Regions from separate parts of the Homo sapiens genome. Here regions 2, 3, 4, 5, 6 and 7 are each linked to region 1. The links are contacts of gene promoters, found by promoter capture Hi-C in blood cells and fetal thymus (Javierre and others, 2016). All regions are on one chromosome and are shown on one strand. The core of a region is centred on a gene start or on the middle of the fragment in contact, and the rest is flanking DNA. Distances in the headings are between cores, read along the strand shown. Region 1 holds the start of ETS1 (ETS proto-oncogene 1, transcription factor). Region 2 overlaps KCNJ1 (potassium inwardly rectifying channel subfamily J member 1). Region 3 has its middle 130 kb from the start of LINC02098. Region 4 overlaps FLI1 (Fli-1 proto-oncogene, ETS transcription factor). Region 5 has its middle 140 kb from the start of MIR6090. Region 6 overlaps FLI1 (Fli-1 proto-oncogene, ETS transcription factor). Region 7 has its middle 120 kb from the start of MIR6090.

The links. Contacts are between HindIII fragments. The CHiCAGO score rates a contact against its expected background, and 5 or more counts as called.
Region 2: a fragment that was not itself captured here is called in contact with the fragment with the promoter of ETS1 in region 1 in 9 of 17 cell types (total B cells, activated CD4 T cells, naive CD8 T cells and 6 more); the score reaches 13.8 in total B cells.
Region 3: a contact is called between a fragment that was not itself captured here and the fragment with the promoter of ETS1 in region 1, in 14 of 17 cell types (activated CD4 T cells, total B cells, naive B cells and 11 more). The highest score is 25.7, in activated CD4 T cells.
Region 4: a fragment that was not itself captured here is called in contact with the fragment with the promoter of ETS1 in region 1 in 9 of 17 cell types (total CD8 T cells, naive CD8 T cells, neutrophils and 6 more); the score reaches 8.6 in total CD8 T cells.
Region 5: a contact is called between a fragment that was not itself captured here and the fragment with the promoter of ETS1 in region 1, in 9 of 17 cell types (activated CD4 T cells, total B cells, total CD8 T cells and 6 more). The highest score is 16.1, in activated CD4 T cells.
Region 6: a fragment that was not itself captured here is called in contact with the fragment with the promoter of ETS1 in region 1 in 9 of 17 cell types (activated CD4 T cells, neutrophils, naive CD8 T cells and 6 more); the score reaches 9.7 in activated CD4 T cells.
Region 7: a fragment that was not itself captured here is called in contact with the fragment with the promoter of ETS1 in region 1 in 10 of 17 cell types (total B cells, activated CD4 T cells, total CD8 T cells and 7 more); the score reaches 15.9 in total B cells.

The regions. Positions count from the first base shown.
Region 1 is chr11:128,586,026-128,589,410 of GRCh38, forward strand. ETS1 (ETS proto-oncogene 1, transcription factor) reads right to left here and starts at 1,533. Exons shown (of 10, transcript NM_001143820.2): 1 at 1,463-1,533. It overlaps LOC105369565 (a long non-coding RNA gene), which reads left to right. Exons shown (of 5, transcript XR_948163.3): 4 at 315-935; 5 at 2,996-3,385. RefSeq lists a silencer at 1,486-1,692. The HindIII fragment of the contact is 9,036 bases long and covers 1-2,881 here.
Region 2 is chr11:128,835,924-128,839,308 of GRCh38, forward strand. KCNJ1 (potassium inwardly rectifying channel subfamily J member 1) reads right to left here. Exons shown (of 3, transcript NM_153766.3): 3 at 2,097-3,385. The coding sequence ends at 3,202. Among named protein-coding and RNA genes, the nearest start is that of KCNJ1, 30 kb to the right of the region's middle. The HindIII fragment of the contact is 1,052 bases long and covers 1,610-2,661 here.
Region 3 is chr11:128,340,058-128,343,442 of GRCh38, forward strand. No RefSeq gene overlaps it. Among named protein-coding and RNA genes, the nearest start is that of LINC02098, 130 kb to the left of the region's middle. The HindIII fragment of the contact is 4,157 bases long and covers 1-3,385 here.
Region 4 is chr11:128,798,254-128,801,638 of GRCh38, forward strand. The region is part of intron 5 of FLI1 (Fli-1 proto-oncogene, ETS transcription factor); the gene reads left to right. Among named protein-coding and RNA genes, the nearest start is that of KCNJ1, 67 kb to the right of the region's middle. The HindIII fragment of the contact is 1,322 bases long and covers 966-2,287 here.
Region 5 is chr11:128,379,371-128,382,755 of GRCh38, forward strand. No RefSeq gene overlaps it. Among named protein-coding and RNA genes, the nearest start is that of MIR6090, 140 kb to the right of the region's middle. The HindIII fragment of the contact is 1,672 bases long and covers 951-2,622 here.
Region 6 is chr11:128,776,022-128,779,406 of GRCh38, forward strand. All of the region lies in intron 4 of FLI1 (Fli-1 proto-oncogene, ETS transcription factor), which reads left to right. Among named protein-coding and RNA genes, the nearest start is that of SENCR, 82 kb to the left of the region's middle. RefSeq lists an enhancer at 707-1,312. The HindIII fragment of the contact is 3,048 bases long and covers 14-3,061 here.
Region 7 is chr11:128,405,525-128,408,909 of GRCh38, forward strand. No RefSeq gene overlaps it. Among named protein-coding and RNA genes, the nearest start is that of MIR6090, 120 kb to the right of the region's middle. The HindIII fragment of the contact is 3,668 bases long and covers 15-3,385 here.

The DNA of each region.
Region 1 (3,385 bases), core at 283-2,782:
ACAGCCAGCAACTAGCACCTCCGTGTAAGGAGCCTGCCGGGCAAAGATGCCCCCTCCATAATTAGGCTCTCGGCTTGGCTTCCCACATCCTCAGCAGCGGAACCAGGACGGAAGAGGCTGCATGGATGCCTGAACTGTTTGTTATTTCACTATTGAGTTGGCAAGGATGGAAGTAGTTGATTTACAATTAGAAGCAGCATGCTTCTTCAAATATTAATATTAATAACTGCACTACTGAACACATGAAAAGACCTTTTCATCTTCAAAGCACTTTGCAGACATTAACCCATTAGCTCTCCCTTCCCTCCATTCAGGAACAACAGGTGAGCAAGACTCTCAACAGCAGCAGTGGCCACCCTGCAGCCCTTGTGCACAGCCCACGGCCCCTGAAGAAAAAGCGTTTTCTCTTTGGATAAAAATAGGCCACCAAACCCAAAACCACAACTGATGAAAGAGTTATAGTATCAGTAATTTTACAAATCAAATGGAGCTGATGGAGTTATCATTTTAGAATTGGTATTTCCTGCTGTTTAACAAATACTTTTTTCTCAGTTGCATGGCAGTGGTCTAAAGTAAGAAGGAAAATGGACTTGAGATTAAAAACAAAAACTTACCCAAAAGGTGATAAAGAAATCCTGCAATAGAATGCATTGATTTCAGTGACCCAGCACCCTTTTAAGTTTGCCTGAAGAAAATACTACTTTAAAAGTTGGTAACAGAGACCTTTAACGGTGGGTGAGGAGTCACATACAAAGTGTCACGGCCAGATAAAATCACCGGATGCAGAGGAATTGCCATCGACATCTCCTGCCACTGAGTCCAGCTCTACCGTGGGGACAAGAAATACCTCCCTAACTCTGAGACAACCGCGGCCCACACCCACACCATGTCTCAACAACAGACTTAGGAACTTGTAGATCTTTGGACAACTGCAGGTCAGTCCCAAGACAGAGAAAAACACCAAACAGGCTAGTTTGGCTAGCAAGATTCAAACCTGTAGCAATTTCCTCTCTATTAAAAGCAATTCATTAAACTACTAGCAGGAGAAAAAAGTAAAACAATAGATTTACTAGGAGTGAAAGAGAATAAAAAGAAATTTATATATTTAACTACAGCTTTATTTCTTTGGAAGTGCTCCAATTTGCAAAAAAAAAAAAAAAAAATCAGGGTTTCTGACAAGTAATCTACGGGTATCTAAAACGTGCATGGTTTTACTTTTGTGAAGCAGGGAACATTTTTAAAAACATAGTCTTGCTTTCAGACTATTCTGACGAGGTTAGGAAGTATTTTTGAAAATTGTTAAACAATTAAATGGGAATATAGAAAGACGTGAAAAGAGAAAGAGAAAACTCACTTGTATCCTGAATCTCCCTACCGACTTACTCTTTAATTCCACAGAAATTTTTTTAAAGCAGGAAAAGGAAAATGGACTGAAAAGTTTTAGGCAGAAACTGACACACACCTCACTTACTACTTTGCCGGAGAGCAGATCCTGAGTGAGCTTCCCTCAAAGTCTGTGGTCTCTTTCCAACTACCTGCGGGAATCCTCTGCTCCGTAGCTTAAGAGGATGCAAAGACCATAATGTTTCTAATAGAGCTGCCTCCTTAAATTGGGGGGTGTGGTCAAGCCAGGGAAAGCTGGAAAAAAGGCAGTCTTCCTCTTGCCCCTGGCACCAGGACAGCAGCCACTGGCACAGGCACAGCAGTCTAGGTGGAAAGCACTGTTGATTGACAGTGGTGGCACCAAATCACACATTATTTCGTATTCTTCAAATTGTGCTTCAGCTGAATATAACTCAGCCTTGGAGAGTAACAGGGAGGGAGATGAGCAAAAGGGAACTAGTTCAGTGGGATAACACTGTATCTCACCTCATCATTTGCTGATGCATTTACTCTCTGCTGAATATGTAAATATTCATGCTTCATGTTCCTTGACTTTCTCAATGGAGCCCCCATTAACCTAGGCAAGGTCTCAGGTGAGGGAAAGGGATTGCTTTAGAAACACAGGACGTCCACCACCCAGTCACCTGCTCAGGCTTCCCGTTTCTCTCTAATAACTTGATATGAAATGTGATATTTTCTAAAGAAAAGAAAATAATTTTGTGGAAGAGAGCTGACTGGATATGGACTTGGGATTTCTGAAAAGTAAAGCTAAAAATCCCCTTTTCATATAAGTCTGGTTTTAGGCAATCTCTAAAATAAGGATACTTTTAGCAGCCCTGACTCATGGTCCGTGGTGCAGGAATAAAAGGGCAGAAGTGTTCATACATTTCTCATTTAGGGAAAATGTAAACAATATGAAAATCTTACATCTGTCCTAAGTGAAAATACACAGCATCTTTTATTCACATATTCAGGACTATGGTAAGAATGTTACAGCATAATCTCATTTCTATGAATGGAGTTATTACAATTTTTTTTGAGAAGTCAGTATTTGGCTGCTTAATCTAAGACTTTTATCCTAAAAGATTCCATCTTCTTTGAGTAGGAGGTGGGAGTTAAGATTTGTCATAGTTGGCTTCTTTCTCTTTTTAATAAAGATACAAACTTAGAAAATCCTTGAAAATCTAATAACTGTCATTTGGAGCCATATCATCATCAGCCTTCATTGTATAAAGCTGGCAATGCAGTTAAGATGACATTGTAAGTAAAGCAAGATTTTACTGCTCATCTTCTGCCTTTGCACATTAACTTGGAAGTAAGGAAGAGGTAATGCTATTGGTTCACTTTAGTTTAATAAATTGCCTGTGCCAGGCACTGTTCTAGGCACTAGAAAGATAGCAAGTTTGCATTGTAGTGAGGAGACAGACACATAAATCAACGATCTCCCCCCAAAAATGTAATACATGCTACAAAAGAAGTCTATGAAGAGAGCTAGGGAAGCTTCAGCCTGCCCCTGTAACCCAGTCAATTTCAGCACACTGCCCCATTTAAAGAGCCCACGGTCAATTATACCAATCATAACTAATTACAACTGTATTCACTATGTTTGCAGGATAATTGAAAAAAACAAAGTTGAGAAGACTTGGATTCTTGCTCTATAAGGGTGTACAGTGTGGCTGTCAAGGGGTTCTGAAGTCTGGAGTTGTCTATGCTGAGTTTATATAGAAAGCAACTCTTCAGGACCTTAGCTCCCTCCTCTGACACGGCCTTTTACGGTGTGGAAGAACATAAACTAGAAATCTTAATAGTGCAAAATAAGCCACCACTGTCATAAATTGCCTAGAGAATGCCCAGGAAAACAGTAAGTTTTGTTTTAAACAGTATTTTCAAAAATATAACATTAGATGGGTATCCACATATAAGAGCATGACATTGGACTCCTACCTTACACCATACTCAAAAATTAACAAAAATCTATCAAAGATCTGAACATAAGAATGAA
Region 2 (3,385 bases), core at 886-3,385, 250 kb after region 1:
GGTGGTGCAAATCTCCCTCTCCAAGGGGCTCAGCTCCAAGGAGTCCAGCTGGGTGCATCTGGCTGGGGAGATTAAATTATTTTTGAATTCCTAACTGAATGTTCTTTTAATGGAAACTTAATGACAGGCATTGAAATAGATTTCCTCCATAACCCCTCCTCCCACCCCCCACGGCTCTGCCTTGCGCAGTTCCCGATAACCTTTATTCCCTGCCCCTGGACTTTTATCTCCCCAATGACAAACAGCCCTTGCCGGACAGAAAGAGGAAATTCCAGTCATTGTTCTCAAACTTCTGGCTTCCAAAATAAAATGCTCTATCTCCCCTGTCAAGCTTTGATTGACACACACTTCCTGTAATGGCAGGCAACAACGGCCCAGGGGCGGGGCCGGGTTCATTTGCATTCTTTCCATCAGAAGCTGTCCTAACGTTTGTTCTAGACAGGGAAAGATCCCCGTGCTATTCACAGAAGCATCCTGTTGAGGACCCATATTCTGTTTCATGAAAAATCCCCAAGGAAGACACTTCCTCAACCGTCTCTGCAATCCGCCCAGGGAGTTCTTCTGGAAGGTCCAGTTGCACATCCCCTTAGTGATGGATAGAGAAGGACAGTCACCTATCAGCCCATGTCTTAAAAAGGCATGGCAACACAAAAGGATCTTTCCCTTCTACCTTTTCTCTCTTAAGGAATAAATAATTTTTAAACATTTAGTGCTTTCCATTAAAGACAACCTCCCAAATCTTAACTCTTAAATATTGGAGCTTGAGCCAACCTAAGTCCAGGAAGATTCAACCAGGATCAAACGCTCTTAGTCAAAATCCCCATAGCAACAGAGATGAACTGGGCAATTCAAAGAGAATCAGTCTCAAGGAAAATTTTGAATATAATAATGCATCATGGGATGCAGTTTTTCACGAAGGAAATTAGAACAGTTGACATGCTTTTGAAATCAGCAAATAGAATAACCCAGCATCTGTAGCAAATAGCAGTACTGATGTAGTCAGATTCCACCGGGAAAAATGTCACTGCATTGTAATAAAAAGGCTGCCTTTAGCAGTGGTGTTAACCTACAAGCAGTTTGGCCTTCTCAGGCTATTTTTCATTTCTCTTTACTACTTGAGCACCCATTCCCTTGTTACCCCCTTTCTTAAAATGCACAGGAGTGTTATGCGCTTTGGGGTTCCAGCCACTCCTTAGACCTATCAAAAGTTACCTGTTCCAGGCCTCTTTTCCTAGGGGCTTAATTGGATGTACCTGTGTTAATGGTTGCTAGAGGGTCAATGGGAATTTCCATTAAAAAAGAGACTCCAGGTGCAGAGTGTCTTGATCCTAGCAAAGGGATATTTAGAAGCAGATGGGCCTCCACCAAATAACCCAGAAGTAAATACCAATCAGAAAGATGTATGTTGTTCACCTCCCTAAACAATCAAAGGGAATGGATTGCTTATGACCATCTCACTTCCAGCCATCTACATGCATGCTGCCAGCCAGCAGGAGAATACACCAGGAAGAGTGCATGCTGATGGGAACAAGTGTCAACACAGTTTCCCTCCAGTTTATGAAGGGGCTACATCATGACAGTGGGCCAGCAGAGAATTCCAGCTCCCTCAAGCTTGTGATACCTGATTTCTTTTTCCTGTCAGCACATTAAATTGTGGTGCCAAAGCACTCACAGGTACAGAGTGAGAGTTCCACATGGGCCAGCTATGGCCACTGTTATGGCCACTGACAAGGTGTGCAACCCTAAAACCATCAGACTTCCCACTGTTCTTAGTCAGAAGGACCAGAGTGGTGCATGGATCTGTACAAATACAGCCCAGGCATGGAAAAACATAAGCCATCCCTCCCAACAACTGTGGGCAGCTGCCGTTTTATGTGCCAAGACTCACACTGGAGAGGCGTGATGGAGCTGTACCGGAAGGGGTGTGTCTGTGGCCAGGGTCATTTCCTCCTGAGGACTCCAGACAACAAATGTGTCCTATCTGCTTCCTCTCCACTCCTCCCGCCCCTTCCAGGAGAGGGTCCTCTCTGCAAGAGGATTTTCACCTGGAACCTGACTCAGTTAATGCATAGTAATAATAATAATCAAAGTGCATGCACAGTTTCAGAAATTTACTATATTAATCAACACACTGAAAACATTTTGATTCCTAAGCAGCTTTGAGTACCAGTTTTTTTCCAGGACACATTCGGAATGATGCAGGTGGGGATCTGAAGAAGACTTTCACAGTAAAACTTTCCCCTCAAGGTCGAGCCTTCCATAAGCTGGTCCCTTTTAGGAAGATGGGCTGTCAGGGAAAGAAAGACATAGTAACATTCTGACTGTGGGGCTCCATCCCATTCCTCTCTCTTTCCCACTTCTTCTTTAGAAATAGCATTCCAGTACAAACTCTAGGTGGAGGAACACATGAAACTGTTTCTTCTCAGGTGCATTAATGATACATTCCCTTCTCTACTGACTTTGCACCTTCCAACTCCTCATTGCTGTCTTCGAAGAGCAGGAAATGCTCTTTATAAACAGATTTATAGCCCTTTAAGCCATCCAATACAGATTGAAAGAAATATCATCACCACTTTTAACTAAAGCATTCTGTCTTGCAGGAAGGTATCATCAAGATTCTAGTGTGCAGATTTAGCCTCTGTCTAAACGTACCACATGAGAAGCTTAGAGCCTCAAATTGTTCTTTGTGTAAGCGTTTTCTTGTCATTGATTGGTTGGTTCATCTCCCCAAATTAGGAGACAATTTTTCCATGAGTAAAAGTCCACATTAAAAGTGGAGTCATTCTTATCAGTAGAATCAAAATGAGATTATTATTGTCCCCTGATCCTTTCTAAAGTTCATAACTTCTTTAAGGAAACTTTAAAAAATATTTTGTTTGGCCTGTTCATGAAACTTTTGATAATTTTATCTGCTCCAATCCACCTTATATGAGCTCAAATAATCATATTTAAGATTTCAAGAGAGCACCTATGTCTTCCATACACCAGTTTCATATAAATGCATTGCACGTTCTAATACAGTAGCCTTGTGGAGATGCATGTCTTGTGGGATCACAATTGCGGGGCTCAGGGGTCTTTGTGCTGGTAGACTTTGAAGGCTCTCATCCTACTTTCGTACCCCTAAATTGTTGACTGCTTCATAATGCTTCTAGGTACTAGGAGCTTTAGAGACTTTGCTTTACTCCCGTTGAAAAGCCACTGTTACATTTTGGTGTCATCTGTTTCATTGACTTCTGACAAGATGAAGTTGGGGTTGTCATAGCCTCTCTTCATCCTGGCTCTAACATCTTTCTCATTATAAAGGCACATGGCACAGTGAGGGGTCTCCACTTCCACTGTCTTGCTAAAGTTATGGAAATCCACTCGGTATTTCCCTTCCTTTGTC
Region 3 (3,385 bases), core at 508-3,007, 250 kb before region 1:
GTAAATGAGTACAGTCACCGTGGAAAACAGTCTGGTGGTTTCTCAAAAAATTAAATATAGAACTACGCTATGACCCAGCAATCCCTCTTCTAGGTATATATCTAAAGGAAACAAAATCAGTATCTCAAAGAGATGTCTGTGCTTCTAAGTTTACTGCAGGATTATTCATAATAGCCAAGACATGGGAACAACCCAAGTGGTCTTTGGTGGATGAATGTATAAACAAATTGTGGCATATGTATACAAAGGAATATTATTCGGCTATAAAAACGAAATCCTGACATTTGCAACTACATGAATAAAACTTGAGGGCATTATGCTAAGAACAATATGTGTAATGACACAGACAAATTCTATATGATAAGAGAAAGACAAATACTGTATGATCTTACTTATATGTGGACTTTAAAAAAGTCATATTCATAGAAACAGAAAGTAGAATTAGAATAGTGGTTGTCAGGGGCTGGGGGAAAGAGAAAAGGAGAGATGTGGTCAAAGGGTACAAACTCTCCGTTACGAGAATAGGTTCTAGAGACTTAATGTACAGCATGGTGACTATAACAATACTATATGATATAATTGATTTTTTTTTTTTTTTTTGAGACAGAGTCTTGCTATCTCCCAGGCTGGAGTGCAGTGGCATGATCTTGGCTCACTGCAATCTCTGCCTCCCGGGTTCAAGCGATTCTCCTGCCTCAGCCTCCCAAGAGGCTGGGACTACAGGCACGCGCCACCATGCCCAACTAATTTTTGTGTTTTTAGTACAGACGGGGTTTCACCATGTTGGCCAGGATGGTCTTGATCTCTTGACCTCATGATCTGCCTGCCTCGGCCTCCCAAAGTGCTGGGATTACAGGCGTGAGCCACCACACCTGGCCTTGAAATATTTTTAAACAGTAGATCTTAACTATTCTCACTGCACACATACACAAAAGATAACTATGAGGTTATGGATCAGTTAACTTGTTTGTGGTAATCATTTCACAATGTATACATCTATCAGAACATCATGTTGTACATGATAAATATACTCAAATTTTATTTGTCGATCATACCTCAGTAAAATAGGGGGAAAAATAATCTGTGTTGAATTGCTACAGTCTCTGACAAAATTATTAATAAGTTAAATATGTATTAATTTTTATTTACAGCTTTATTTTTACATTTTGGGCCCAGTCATTCTTTTTTCTAGTCTCATATTTTGTGAAGGCATCGAAAAACATGCTGACCGTAGGGGCACCATGGCTATAACGACTTGCCTACAGTTTGTTTCCAAGGAAAAGCCGTAGAAAGGATTAGAATCTCACAGTTGGATTATGTCTGTAGTCTCTTAAAATGAATACTGTACTGTGCCAAACAACCTTTAGTCTCCTTGCTTAAAAGCCTCAAGTCAGATGTATGATCTCTCTTACTCTGAGGAAATGCAGGGGCGTGTCCCTGGTGATCATCTTGGTTGAGTTTCCTGTCTTGGCTCCGTTGCCTGAAACCTCATCCAATGTCACCTTTTAGTGAATCTAAAAGCCACTCAGAAAATAGGCAGAATCTACCTATTACTCTGAATTATTCGTGGGCAGGGCATAGCGTACCCATCTCCCAAATCACACTTCAGCTTTAGGATTTCTACGTCTTACCCCCATAGGTATTTTGAGGAGCAGGGCAGCCTCTATCGTGGCTTCATTTATTTTGCTTTCGGAAAAGTGGAAAGAGATTTCCCTAAGCACTGGAAAGAATCTGAGATAGGAAAGAGAAAGCCAGAAGAGAAACAAACTTCAGACAGCAGCGTGGAGGAAGGAAGTGGAAACAGAGACCAGATGAATTCCGCTCCCCAACTTTCAACCCAAAACTGCCTCCTGAGCTGCGGGGTCCCAGAGGCTCCTGGGTCCTCCAGCAGGAATCAATGTGCACATTTCCATATCAAAGAAACAAGCTCCCCGCACAGGACCTCAGTGAAAGGAGATCTGCACTGAGAAGAAAGCGAAGTTAGGCGCCTCGGCAAGCATTTAGAAATAACTTTAAGCACCAGCAGCTCAGGCCTCATTTTTGTAATGCTCAATCACGGATCACCTATCGACCAACCCATCAAACTCCCCGCCCCCAGCACTTTTATTTCTCCTCTTTAGGAAGTACACTTCAGTATCTTTGGCACAGTGCATGAGCACGACTAAAGTAAAACATCGCAGAAAACATAGCTTTAGTCTACCCTTCGTGTCCTAAAAGGAAAACCAGTAGCTTCCCAGGCCACCGGAAGGGCAACACATGTCCTCTGCAGTTTCTGCACACGGGAAGGTAAAGACAGAGAGAGGACCTACTCCTCAACACAGAAACATTTCAAAATCTTTCCTCGCCTGCAACCCAAGCTGAAGTCATTCTCCCCAGAAATAACAAAAGTTGGAAGAGAAGCCGGAGACAGGATAGGTGCAGGAAGCCCACACTTTGAGGGCAGCACTCAGACACCCTCTCCTGTGTGCAGGACGTGCCGAATGTTCAGGTGCAATGAGAATGAGCCATGCTTGGCTTACGAGGGCAATCTGGCCCATCAAGTGGCCTTCGCCTCTGGGAGTAACAAAAATGCACTTCAAAATAGCTTCTGTAATCAAGCTGCATGGGTGGAGTACTCCCCAGCTGACTCCAGGAAGTTCTCTATCCAAAGCTATTCATTAGGCCAGAGCTGTGCAAATAATTAGTCACCCACTTGCTCCATAACCCTCCATGACAGCCCAGGCATTGAGTCCAGGTGGGACCATCAAGCCATGCTCTGGTGGCTCATGCATTATCATAGAAATGGGAGGCTTTATTTATTTTACTAAAAAGAACAAAAACAACAGACTGCTGTCCTTTAGACAATAGGATCACGTCATCTGAGCCCTCTGTGCCCCAGGTGACAAGCCCAGCCCCAAGTTCTCTTTCCTCAGCCTCCCCACACATGTTCTGGAGGAGATGGGCCCAGCAGGCTGCTCTGAGGCCTGGCTGTCTCATCCTGAGAATGCGTCACCGTGAAGTGCCCTTGCAGATGTTTCCTGGGCTAAGCCTGACAAGGCTGAGAGCAGAGACTTTGGCAGCAGGAGGCCAGGGGGAAACAAGAGGCAGCCCTGAACTCAGCCTTCACGGCCCTCCCTAAACACATGGGCCAGCCACAGGGAAGAAAAAAATGCCCTGTAGCACAGGAATCTAAAACATTGCTGTTGTTCTAGTTAATAAAAGGACTTAGAGATTGAAAAGAAGTACCATCTGTATGGCTGGCAACAGACAGCATGATTTTGATGACTGACTCTGGGGAGATCTGAGAAAACAGTACATAATATGTCCTTACCTCTGCTCCATCATTCATGACCCAAGCTCCTGCCCTGTCTTCTCAGGAAGATTCTTACAGTAACTCCAGTTTGGA
Region 4 (3,385 bases), core at 377-2,876, 210 kb after region 1:
ATGAATTGCTATTCCACATGAGGCTGGCTCAAAAATCCCACTTTGAGGCCTTATCAAAATAAATAGGTCATTTAGACATCTGTGTCACTTAGACACAGAGCCTGTGGGAGAAATGAAATAGAAGAAGGTCCCAGGTTCAGCAGGGAGCCTCACGTGGCCATGGCAAGGCTGTGCCCAGAGAATGTGCCACTTCACTCTCCACGCTTTTCATATTTAAAAGTCAGCTATTTCTTCCAAGCCTTTTCCTCGTAGGTCTTTTTTTCCCTTTGCCCATCTAATATCTTCAACAGTACCTCCATTATGCTCCACACAGCAGGGTCAGCTCCGAGGCAGAGGGGCTGTTGGATTCCAGGACAAGATCCTTGAGCAAAGGAAACCTGATCCAGGATGTTTTTTCCCTGTGAGTTCCAAGTTTGGGGAAAGCGTTCCCTGGATATTTTCCTCCTTCCAAGGTCTCAGTGGATGCCAAGCTCCTCTGTTGCTCTTTGGGATGTAAGACGCCGCTGAAGTGAAGGTTTAATAGCCCCTCTAGAATGGTGGGATGTAGTGAGGACTTGGTCCTGAGCTTCAAGGCCAGGTGGCCAGTGACTCTGGCACCTGACAGTGGGGGAGGAAGGAGGATGCTGGGTAATGCCTGGGCCTAACAGCCAGGCAGACCACCTGTAGCCATCAGCCCTCTCTGTCTTCTGGGGTGGGGTTTCTCAAACCAGGGTCCAGGATAATAATCCACCTCTTCTTTTAAAAGAAAGCCACGATTTATTTTATTATATTATTATTATTATTATTATTATTATTATTATTTTGCTTTGGAGACAGGATCTCACTTTGTCACCCAGGCTGGAGTACAATAGTGTAATCATAGCTCACTGCAGCCTTAAACTCCTGGCCTCAAGTGTTCCTCCCACCTTGGCCTCCCAAAGTGCTGGGATTACAGCCCTGAGCCACCACACCCAGCCTGAGAGCCAAGCTTTATTTAAATTTGGGAATCACTGTTCCAGGAGCACAGGAATAAAACTGTCCTTCATCCTTTATAGCCCTCAGGCTTCTCTTCCTTTTCAAGGCCTTCCTCAATGGGCTTGGTAATCTCATCTCACCAAGATAAGCATGGTAGAGGGGCAAGCAGGATGGAATAGACTCCATGTATATGGTGTGTATTTTTAAAATCACCATTTATCACATGCTTATTTAATCCTCATAGCAACCGTAGAAAGCACCTGTTATTAATGCTTTTCAGAGAAGCAGAACTGGAGGTTCAAAGCAGCTGAGCAACATGACCAAGGTCACTCCACAAGGCCAATGGCGGAGCTGGGATTTGAATCCCGGGTTAACTGATTCGAAGTCCTATCTCCTAACTGCCAAAATAATCCCCAGGCCCACCAGAGAGAAAGGATACCTTCGTGATGACATCCTAAGCCCTGCATCTACTTTGCCTCAGGGTGGGGCTGAGGGCGCGGACTCGAGCAAAGACTGCAGCAGATGAGAAGCTGGTCCTGAGCTGTGGGTTGGGAAGGTTCGGGCAGTGCAGCAGTTCTCACAGGTGGAGAGCAGGATGAAGGAACGCTTAGAGGAGAGCAGCTTCTGCAGGTTGGTGGCTGGGAGAGGCTGCTCCTCCCCAAAGACTGGACCTATTAGAAGCACAGGACCTCTGATGGAGATGGGGTTTTAGAGGATCTCCTAGTCCAGCCCTCTACCAGTACACGTCATAACCTGTCGGACAGCCCAACAACAAAGACCGCCGCTCACCTGCAGTTTCTTCCCTGTCGGAGTCTGGGAGTGAATCTTCCTCCTCGTGGGCTTGGCTCTCTTGGGAAGTTGAGGGCTTTGGGTCTCAGGTCTGCCATTGATTTGAGCATTTCTCCTGTGCATCCTCACTCTTTCAAGAAAGGAGGTCTGGATCTGGCTACCAAATCCCCCTGCTCTGCTGGGAGCATGAGCAGCCTTGCCCATTGCTCGGCTGAAAGGTCTGCATTCAGAAGCCAGGCTTTCCAAGGATAAACAGGGTTAGGTGCTGCCAGCCTTCTTAGCAGCAACCAGAAATTCAATGAGAAGTTTCAGGGAAAATTCATCTTTTTCCACCCAGTCATTGAGAGCAAGGTTTTATGACACAGAGGATGAAGAGAGAGGCTTTTGTGGGCTGATGTCGCTGTGTTGCTGGCCTCTGGTCAGGTCACAAGGTGGAGCGCTGCATGCCGGCAGGGACGTTTGGGCTTTCAGACAGCAGAGGCATCAGAGCAGAAGCAAATATCTTCCCAAAGATGTTTGGCCATATTTCTAGGACCAGGTTAAAAGCTTCACACAGAAGCTAAGTTAACATTGGTATGTCTATGAGAGGGTCATGTCCAGAAACAGCTTTCGCCTTCCAACAGAGACTTTGCGGAAAAAAATCTCCATGCTCATATTTCTCTACCTCAGGAGGCTCTCCTGGAATCTAAGAGGCCATTTAGTGTCAAATTCAGCCCCACTAAGCATCACATAATGGTGATACTGTTAAGGACATCATATATGTGAGGCTGAATTATCCACAATGGCTGGCAATGTCTTCATTCTCCAGACTGAGGCTCCGGCCTCTTTGCTTTGGCAAGAGTTGATCTCAGGACTGCCTGAAACCAGAAACTCCAGGCAAAGCTCTTTGGGTCACTCTTCTGAAAAGGAATCACAATAATAAGATCTGTTATCTTGGTACTCTGTAAAGCCAAGGTGTCAGCCTTCACGACAGTGAAAAGTTAGTTTGTCAGAACCAGGGTGTGATTGTCTGCTGATTAAGCCATCTGCCACCACAGAAACAGACCAAGATCATCAACTGGTACACTGGTGCCGACGGCCACATTTTTACACACTGGGCCTTTGGCTGCCACCTCAAGTTTGTCAGTTCTCAGGAGGCAGACTCCAGGCACCACATTCGAGAGGGCCTCCATGCACGCTCAGGCTTCTTCTCATAGCAGGCACACCCTGCCTGAGCCCCACTCCATGCGCTGACGGAGAGTCGGGGCAGGAGCTCTCATGCAGCCAGGTGTTGGGCTCTGCAAGGGGGTTTGTGTGGGGATGTGAGCCACTGGGTCAGCTCCCTGGTTCAGGCTTCTGCATTCAGGTTATAGACATATCTCTGTGTGTATGTTGGGGACTAGAGATGACCACACTGCTAAATTCTTCTTGAGTGACTTTTAGTAGGAAAAAAATATGAACCCTCACTTCAACAATGACATTGTTAAAAACACATAAAATGCACACCACTTCACCGAGCAGCATTCAGGCCTTGACTTCCCTGTGGGAACAAGCTTTTAGCCTATGCCTCATACATAAATAGGTGGATTGTGGTCCACTCAGAGGGGACACAGGAGTGATGTAGTCTGTACCCCTCAACACCCCAGATGGAAATCTTTTGCCT
Region 5 (3,385 bases), core at 537-3,036, 210 kb before region 1:
TTAATAATCTACGACTCTACTACGTACAAGATTTTCTTGTCAACAAACATTGATGCTTTCTGAAGTAAGGTATCATATCTTACACTTCATTGGAATCTACTATGACCTGGCAGTGTCGGGGGTATATAGGAGATAACTAAACAGCACTGAAAAGATGAATGATTTATTACTATTTCTCCAGCTGTGTTCCTATATGATGCTCTAGTAGAAGGATGCAAATGTCTCCCTGTGAAAGGGACACTCTCCAAGGCAATGGCAGTGCCAACACCCACCAGGGGCTGTTGGCCATCTTTCTGTTCTTCTGAAGGAAACATCAAAGGGCAGTTAGTACAGACCCTGCACACTCTTACTCACTCTTGATACCTCAAACAGCAAAGTGCCAGAATGAATCACTTTTCTGAGCCAGGAGGTAAATGTGGCCATTTATAGATAGAAGGAAGAGATTAGGTATGTTGAAAGGGGAAGGTTTTTATGCTTTGCTTTTGATCCCCGTCTGGCACTCCCCAGAGCTGCCATGTGCCCCACACCTGATAAATACTGTTTTATAAATGGCAAAGAAGAGAATTTAAAGCCATAAATCTATCCCCACCCCCCTTGCTTTTTTATGGATCTAAAGGATAATTAAAACCATGCTCTTGCTTTGCAAATGAAGACTTGTCTTTCTGGCAGTCCCCATTTCAAATGAACTTGGGAGCAGTGTCAGTGCAAAGGGCAGCCTTGGGTTGATGCTGTCCAGGCTGGGATGCAACTGTCTCTAACCTTGTAGGTCTCAGGGTGTGTGTGCACCACCCAGGGGCTGCTGCAGTAAGCGAGACCTCTACACAGCTCTGCCTGGTGCTTTGAACTTGGTTAATGCACAGTGCTAATGAGGCCCAGGTCAATATTTAGCTATTTTCAGAGAAAAAAAAGAGAAAAACAATGTCCTTCTTTGGCCATAGACTGCTCCCCCAAGCTTCAACCACTTCTTTCAGGTATTCATAGACACAGGAAAACTGAGAGAAGGAATATGAATGGATCAGGACTGCCAGAGAAACCATACAAAATATTACATCATCATATAAATGAATCATCATAAAGGCCATGTACTGTCAAGGAAAATGTTTTTGTTAAAGCTGTAAGTGGAAAATTAATAATATAAAATACGTTTGCATTATGAGGATAGAAAGTAAAAATAAATTATTTTTTACAATATATTTTCAATTATCAAATAATATGTGTGCACATGGTTGAAATAAAGAATAATAAAAAGGGCTTATACATGAAAGGCCTCTGTCCCTTCCCTCTTCCCCTTCCCCTCCCCAGAGAAAACTCTTTTAACTCTTTGGGCTATTTTTCTGGGAGTTAGTGCCATCTTTCTAGACAATGCATGTTTTTGCCTGCACTTTTAATTTATTCATTTTATACATTATCTTTTGAATCCCCACTATGATAGATTAAGATTTAGTTCACACAAACTCACCCTAAACCCAATCTCGTAGTAAATAAAAATTATGTCATTTATTCTTTAATCTTTTGTAATTACTTATTATCATACTTTTGTTTCTTGTTTTACCAACTAAAGGCAACATCTTTTAGCATCCCTGTCTTTTCTTTCTACTCTCAGCTCTCCCCACCGCACCACCTGCTACCTCCCAATTTCTCACATGCGCACTTCTTTTATATTGTCACAGAGGAGGGAAGGTACATTTTATTCCATAGCCAGCTTGCATCACTGAGCTGATTATAGAAGTTGAAAGTCAACTAACCCTATCCCTGTTATTTTGACTGTGTCAGTATTGCACAAAGCAGAGTAACGTAGTGTTTTCATGATTACAGTTCTTTCTTATAATGCTCTATCCTTTTTCTGAGATTTCTAGATGCCAGTTTTTTAAAATTTTGCCTTTATCACACTTTAGAATTTTATATCAAAAATCCTTCCCACTCTCTTTTTACGTCAATTCTCCTGCCTAGGCCCCTTTGTCCTTCTGCTCTAATCGACAGCTGTGCCTTCAGGCCATGTGCATTCATCTTCCTGGGAATTGTTATTCTTTTCCTGGGTCAGTTCCACCATATCTAGATCCTATATCCTCTTTGTTGGTTTGATCCCTGGTTTGTTGCAGCATTGCAGCAAACACACATCCCTCTTTCTTTCTAACATATCCTACTTTTCATTCTGGTATACCACCCTATGTTAATGATCTTGAACTTCACCAAGTCAATTGTGTCAACGTTTCCCTTCCTACTGATGGGTTGAAAAGTGGACATATTGTCAATTTTAGACAATGAAAGGGAAATTTTGTCATGGAACCTCTGGTGAAGTCTTTGATTTAAAAAATTCACAAAAAGAGAATGTCCTTTATTCCTCTGGTCATTTTCTTATCTGTACATGATATCTGGTTATACAAGTAATCCTCCAATGCAAAGAGAGCTATCTCAAGAATGATGCAACTCACCAAGAACAACAGAAAAGCAAAGCAGGAAGAACTTAAAATGTTGGTAACATAATTGAGTCAACATTATAGCTGTCCATTCTAGACTTCTTGTTATTTGAGATAATCGCTGTCTTTCTGTGTAAACCAGTTGAGTTATAGCTCTCTACTGTTGCATTGAGTCATTTTATCTAACATAGGCATTTCTTCAGGAAGCTTTCTAAAATAAGTGTATAAAGTGAATTTTCTGAGTCCTTATAAGGAAAAAAAAAAAGTCCTTATTTTACCATAACAATTTAGTGATAGTGTAGTTGGGTATAGAATTCTAGGTTGAAAACTCATTTTTCCTAAAAAATATAATGCTAATGCTCCAATGTCTTTTCTCCTGTTCCCCACCACCACCTCTCTCTCTGTGTGTCTCTTTCTTTTTCAGTGGGCTTTTAGAATCTTCTCTTTTTTCTTGGTATTCTGTGAATTGACCATATGTTTAACTATGGCATTTTTTCATTCATTGTGTGAGACATACAGATATCATTATAATTTACTTGTTTCTTTTAGATAGTTAAATTAATAAGGTTTTGTTGTTGTTTTTTATTTGTTTTAGAGAAAGGTTCTCTCTCTGTTGCCCAGACTGGAGTGCAGTGGTGTGCTCACAGCTCACTGCAGCCTCAACCTCCTGGGCTCAAGAGATCCTCCTGCCTTACCCTCCCAAGTAGGTAGGACTACACGTATGTGCCACCACACCCTGCTAATTTTTTATTTTTATTTATTATTCTTAATTTTTTCATAGAGATGAGATCTCACTATGTAGGCCAAGTTGGTCTTGAACTCCTGACCTCAAGAGCCCTCCCACCTAGGCCTCTCAAAGCATTAGGATTACAGGCATGAGCCACTGTGCCTTGTTTTAAATGAATTCTTTGTATGCACTTCTCTCTTTCTGGAAACGTGTTAATCAGATATTTGACTTCCTAGATTAA
Region 6 (3,385 bases), core at 288-2,787, 190 kb after region 1:
TCATAGGATAAGAAGCTTTGGCATCAAATTTACATTTCACAAAAGGTGCTTGACTATTTATTCTGGTGGTTTGGGAGGGGAGCTAGACTTTTACATTTTAAATGCAAATGTATTTTCCAGGGTAGAGAAGAAATAGCAGTTCCCTGTGCCCCTACAGACCCTGTCTGATGGCCAGGCATGCTAGGGAGGTGCTTGTTCTTCACACCTGGGCGTGTCAGCTGTGCCAGAGGAGCTGTGTCACACGCCACACAGGCGCCCACCCCTCCCCCCCACCACCACAGGAAATGCAAGGAGGACTGTGATGGCTGGGGTGGCCACGGTTCTTGGGGGTAATTCCCATGAGTCCTGGGAAACTCCAGGGTTTACACCTGTCAATCCCAGCACTTTGGGAGGCCAAGGCGGGTGGATCACCTGAGGCCAGAAGTTGGAGACCAGCCTGGCCAACGTGGTGAAACCCCGTCTCTACTAAACATACAAAAATGAGCCAGGTGTGGTGGTGGGCGCCTGTAATCCTAGCTACTTGGGAGGCTGAGGCAGGAGAGTCGCTTGAATGCGGGAGGGGGAGGCTGCAGTGAGCTGAGATCGCACCACCGCACTCTGGCCTGGGCGATAGACCGAGGCTCTGTCTTCAGAGGAAAAAAGGTTGCCCCCTTGTGGACAACTATCTACAGTACCCATTTTGAAGCTGAACCCACTGAGGCCCAGACAGCTTCAGAAATTGGTTCAAAGGCATCCAGCCGATTGAGAGCACCTGGCATCTCAGACTAGGGCCTCTGGAGTCCCAGTCCCTGGCCTCGCGTTGCCGACGTTCCCCCGGCCCTGGAGACAGCAAGCCAGCCTGCGCCACACAGGCAAGGCAGCCTCACTCCCGGCCTTCCACGTGGGCAGCCCGGCCACTTCCCCCACAGCATTTTCTGTTGTCATTTGTACCAAGAGATAAATGCTTTCCAAAAACTTTCCTGTGGCCTCCTGGAAGGAGGCCGATTAAGCCAAACCTATCACCACGCTAACTTTGTCCTTCTCTGGGCCTGACTGTCGGCCCCACCAGTATCTCTCCCGGACACACCCCGTGTGGCAGAGGAGCCTTCGCAGCAGCTGCTGCGGGAACGAGATTTGTCCCTTCTCAGGCCAAGGCGGGGAAGGACCTCGAAGAAACGGAGGGCGCCGGGCTGGCAGTTCAGGCTCAGGGCCGCTGGGGGGAGTTTGCGCAAGGCTGGGAGCCCCGAGGCCCCGGGGGAGGTGGGGAGGCAGAAAGAAAAAGAGCCTTTTTTAAGTTTTACAAACAAGTTCGTTTTGTATGTCAATCTGGGTCTGACCTGGAAAAAAAAACACTAAGAAACTGCGTCTTCAAACAGTGGCTGCTCAAAAGAATGAAACTGCGCGACCGGGAGACCACGGAAAGGGTGTCTATCTTCATTCCCATTTTTAATTTAAACTTTAATGGAAAACACATTTTGCATTTTCTGGTCTTTCCACCTGCAGCCTCAGATGGTCGGGCAGAGGTTTTGAGTCTGGGCAATTAAGCTGGTGCAATCTTATCACTTCCAGGCCTGGGTTTGACTGGTGAAGGAGAACAGAATGCCAGCTGAACAAAAGGCCAGGTTTCCCTGGACCCAGTAGTCAGCCAGGATTGTTGTTTAAAGATCCCAGAGCCTTGCACCCTCCCGCTCCTGCACACTCAGCCAGAGCTGTTGATATAGCAGTGCAGCCCAGAGAAAAGAGAGACCTGGATTCAATAGGCTGGCTGTGAGGGGGCACTGGTGAATTCTATGGTCACAGCGAGGCAGGAGACAAAGGCTTTGGCACTGGGACGCTTGCGCCCCCTGGCCCAGGTGTCCCCGATGAAAAGCAGGTTAGGTTGAGGGAATGTGAAGCAGCAGAAACCGTGATTGTTGGGGTTCTACCCCACACCTGCAAAGCCTCACACTGCTCACTCCCCTCTCCTTTCAGATCCAGGTACTGTCTCTAGCAGCACATGGATTCAAACATGGAATGGAAAATGATCTTTTCCCCATGCTTGCACTTTGGGAAGGCCATTCTATTCTCAGCAGGAGCTACTTTATGCTTTTTAGAGCAAAAATGCCCTCAATAAATAGATATATGTATATGCATACACACCCATATACAAATATATACATACAAACACATATACAGAAACTTACAAATAACCAAGTAGGCAAATCTTATACTTCAGTTTGAACTGAAGTACAACACAGAGAGAAGTGCAAAAATCATGAAGTGCGCTACGTGAGACATTATCGTGACGTGAATCCACCCACTCCCATAAGCACCTCCCGGGCCAAGGAGTAGAATTTCAGCCCCCTGTACCCTCTCTCCACCCCACAACCGCTTCCTCCACAAAACTAACCACCACCCTGCTTCCCAGCCCCATAGGTGAGTTTTGCCTATTTCTACGATTTAGCCTGGAGGCAGTGGGATCTGCCAGATTGAGGACAGGTTTTGTGAATAGACCACGATGGGGCTCCTGCCTTCTGCACTCTCTGGCTGTGTGATCCTGGGAAAATGATATGACTTCGCTGAGTGTTGCTCCTTTCATCTGTAAAAAGGAATAAGGGAATGCTGGCTCTGTATGGCTTATGCAAGGATTAAGTGAGAAAATAGATGGAAAGCGTCTGGCACACCGTGCATGTTCAGGGAGCACTGCGTCCCCACCACCACCTTCATCATGGCCTGTTTACCCTGATGTGCTGGCATCGGGAAGGTGGGGGAGCTCAGCAGCACAGGCCTGTGGCAGGGTCAGGCCAGAAAGAGCCTCAAGGCAGGAGAAAGCAGTCCAAAGCCACAGAGAGGGAGGCCAGACTCCAGGAGGACCTGCCTGCATCAGAACAAGTTCCTTAAGAAAACAGAGCCTGGGGAACTAATGAAGTAGAAATCGGAGAAGAGGAGGGAATCTAGGTCCCTTGGGAGAGAGGCCAGATGCCCCCAACCAGCCCCTCCTTGGGGAAGGCAGCCTCTCCTTCTAGGAGTGAAACTTGAACCAAGAACAGTCTTTAGGGCAAAATCCTTTTCCTAGGTTGCCATGAAATATACATTTCATGCAAGCTTTGGAGAGGTCAAATGACCCTTTCTCTCAGCTTTCTGGGAGTTTCCTGTGGAATTCATGTGTGCCCAAAGAAGAACTTTCACCAATGGGGAAATTTAATAAATGTGGTTTATCTAAGGTTCGTGCTTTCGGCTACATCTGCACTAATGACTCAGGCAGTTTGCTCCTCGGAGACCATCATTTTTCTTTATTTGCTCCAGCAGTGAGGTTTCAGCCTGAGGGAGAGAACGTCAGGGACGGAGAGGCAAGCATTCTTGGTCCTACTTCTGGGATTTTTTTGTATTCCCTCCGAACATTTGGTTCCATTTCTTCACTTCCTTC
Region 7 (3,385 bases), core at 599-3,098, 180 kb before region 1:
TTTAAATTTTGAAAAGCTTGAATTTTATGCCAGATGGCTTTATTATTTCCCTGGTTCCAGATCCCTTTCCCTCTTGCCTTTCACGCCCTGTGCCCTAGGGCTGTATGGTGTGTACCCCTATAATTCTCCCAGCCTGCAGGGCAAAATGTAAAAACTTCAAGCCTCTTTTTCAGCAGACAGAAGGGAGGGTCAGGGCAGGATCTCGGTAGGTTTTGTCCAAGCAGTCGGCTCACTCTTAAGCTGGCCTGAGGCAGCAGCACCTCCTTACGCTCATGTGCAGAGATCCAGCCCTCCCAGTGCCCCGCTTTGAGTCCCAGGGCTTTTCTCAGCCCTTGCAGCCAGCTGAGCCACTTCTACCACTCCCACCAGCTTATAAGAGAAAGAGACTTCTTCTGTGCTATGTCTAATATTATCAGGTCCATTTTGAAAATGAGACTAACATAGCCACAGCTCCTCCCTCCAAGGGAGACTCTCATAGCACTATTCAAATTGCATGATGAATCAAGCCCTGCTGAACTGCATTCGTAAATCAACCGGACAATGCTTAGAACTTCAGGAGGAAATATGGAATTAGATGTGGGAGCTCTAAAAATCACCTCACAAGACAGAAAGGGAAAGAGAAGAACCAGAAGGAAGACTCAGAAAAGAGTTAGACTTGAGCTGGCAAGAGAAGCACAGAAACGCTTCTTCTCAGAGCCTAGTTATTGTTGGCAAGCACCAGAGCTCTGCTGCAAGGACCTCCCATGGTGTCCAGCAGAAAGAAAAAATCAAAAAAGATGGGAGCACTCGGGTGTTTTCATTTTAATTAGGGTTATTTATAGGGTAAAGATTGCTGTGTTTACATGGGTGCATTTTCTTTCTCAATGGTCATAGTCAGCTTTTTTTTTTGTTTTCTCATTATAGAAACAGAGAAGCAACCTAGCTGCTTCTGGTTAGGACCCATCTGAGATTCCAGAAACCTCTGCTGAGTCAGGTGGAGATTGAGCTGAGTCTTAAGAAGCAAGAGTTCTGAGACTCTGCCACTTCTGCCCCAGGGAAGATGCAAACTGCTGACCTGCCCAGGATGGATGTCCCTGGGAAGGAAGTCTCTGGTGTCAGTCTGGAATGCCAGCCAGGAATTTGGGCAACAAGGAGAAGCAATTGCAAATAGTCTCTCAATGTGGAAGCTGAGAAGTCTGAGTCTGAAACAACACGAGGAGTAAAGCCCCCATGTCTCCCCCTCAGCTCCTCCAGGGTTTGGAAAGAGGAAGGAAGGACCCCTGAGTGTTTCGCTGTTTATTACGAAGAGGACTAAGTAAAGGATAAGGAGATGTAAATGCCAGTCCCAACTCTACTGTAAGCAGGAGCCCTGGGCAAGTCACTTTCCTTCTCATTCTATAAAAAAATGGGCTTCTATGGACCTCAGTTTCTCTTCTATAAAATGAAGAGGCTTGGACTCAGTGGTCTCTAGGAGTCTTTGCTGTTTGATTTTATGAATCAGGGAGTTCTATAAGAAGAGGTCAGAGCTGCCTCACTTACTATTTCTTCAAAGCATCTTTGGCCAAGGCATTGGATTTCTCAGCAGGCTTTTGCCCAACAGCCAGTGGACTGGTGCCTACTTCTGAGCAAAGGGCTAGGGAAAGCAATGGTAGCTGCTCAAATCTACAGGAGTATTTTCCATACATTAATATGGAAAAGCATGTGTCATGGACTGGGCCCTGAGGAACACCTCAGCCTGGTAATTGACAGGAATAATTATTTTTTTCCACTGCAGAGAGAAGTTCATGTGCCTTGAAAGTTAAGGAAGGTAAAAAACACACTTACCCAATAAGCAGACACTCAAATATATGAGCATAATCAGCAAGGTTTGATGTAGACGGGCAAAAAAACAAAAGAAAAGAATGAGCAGTTGGGGCCCTCCACTCCACAAAAGAAAGCCCCTGAGGGTCCCCCATTTTCTCACCAAGTCCCTTATCCTCTCCACACCCCAACTCTGACTGCCTTGTCCATTAAACAGCCTCGAAATACTCCTTGTGTTTGCCTTGGGTAGTGGCGGAAAAAATAAAGAAGAGAGATAAGGGATCAGAAGGAACAGATCTTGAGAAATTTATGAATAATTAATAAGAATTGAGAGAAGAAAGAGAGTGAAAAAAAATTTCCATGGGAAGAATTCCTCTACCTGGACAGGACAGGAAAGGTAATCTTGTGCCTTACCGAGAACCCCAAAGTAGACTGAGCTTGTCCGTAGCCCTTGCCCCCTCTCACCATGTCTTACCCCAGCCATTCTTCCTTCTCCCATAACCTTTCATTCACATCTCCCCATTCCATTTCTTAGCAACCATGTTAGCAAGTGACTAGTGTCCTCCCCATATCCTTACACAGATGTGAGCAGTTCATACTGTCACACTAACTGCAGACTTCATTCTGCCTGTCTCTTTCAATCTATTTAGAAGGGAAAGACAAAAAGAATGGTGAGAAACTACTATTCTGTGACCCAGCAACTGGCCAGAAGTTTCAGATTTGGAGCAAGGCTGAGAAGAGGTTGAAGAAAGATTAGCAACGCTATAATTAGCTGATGGGTACTGTTGTATACACCCTTACTTATAGCAAAGAGAGCTCTCCATGATTCATTGTGTTATTTCTAGGCATTTGGCTCATACCAGCCAGTTTGCTTCAAGATTTTCTCAAATCTTTTGTGGTTCCCATATGCTGAGAAAGCCATTCTTTAGGAGCAGAGATGTTATCTATTCCTCAAGTTGTGCAATCATCAGTTTGCAAAGCCAAAGCCCATTGCTGCCTTGCCAGATTTCATCTGACCCCAAACAATTAAGGGACTAGTATTGGTCATTTGCATGGCATTTTGAATCCCAAAAGAAATATGAAAAAAATCATTTATCCTTGAAAGGTTGACTGAAACAATCTTGCAGCAATTTTTCAGCTCAGCCCACAGAATGTTTACAAATCTCTTCTGACACTAGGCATAGTCCAGCAATGATATATCTGATAGAAATTGCCCAAAGGAGTTCAATACTAAAGCTCTGAAATTGAACCCAAATTTAAAAACACCACAGCCTGATTTCCTTTCAGTCCAGCCTAATATTTTTCTAGCTTTTCTTCTACTAACCAACTTTGAAACAGCTGGCCTGATGCTAGAATAGGTCCTGTATTTAGTTCACAAGTTGGAGGAGGGGTAGTGTTACCCCAAGAAGCAAAGAGACTCCTGTTTTTAAGGCAAGGCCCTCCTTGCACACAACACTAAATCTGGCCCACTGACCATCTAGATTTCCCTTTTAGAAATATTCTGAACTGGAGACCCTTGCAGACACAAGCCCAAGGACCAAGGGTCATCTTTACCTTTTTTTCTGTGTGGATCAGTACTAAGAAAGCTCTCAAGTGTGCCTTGCTA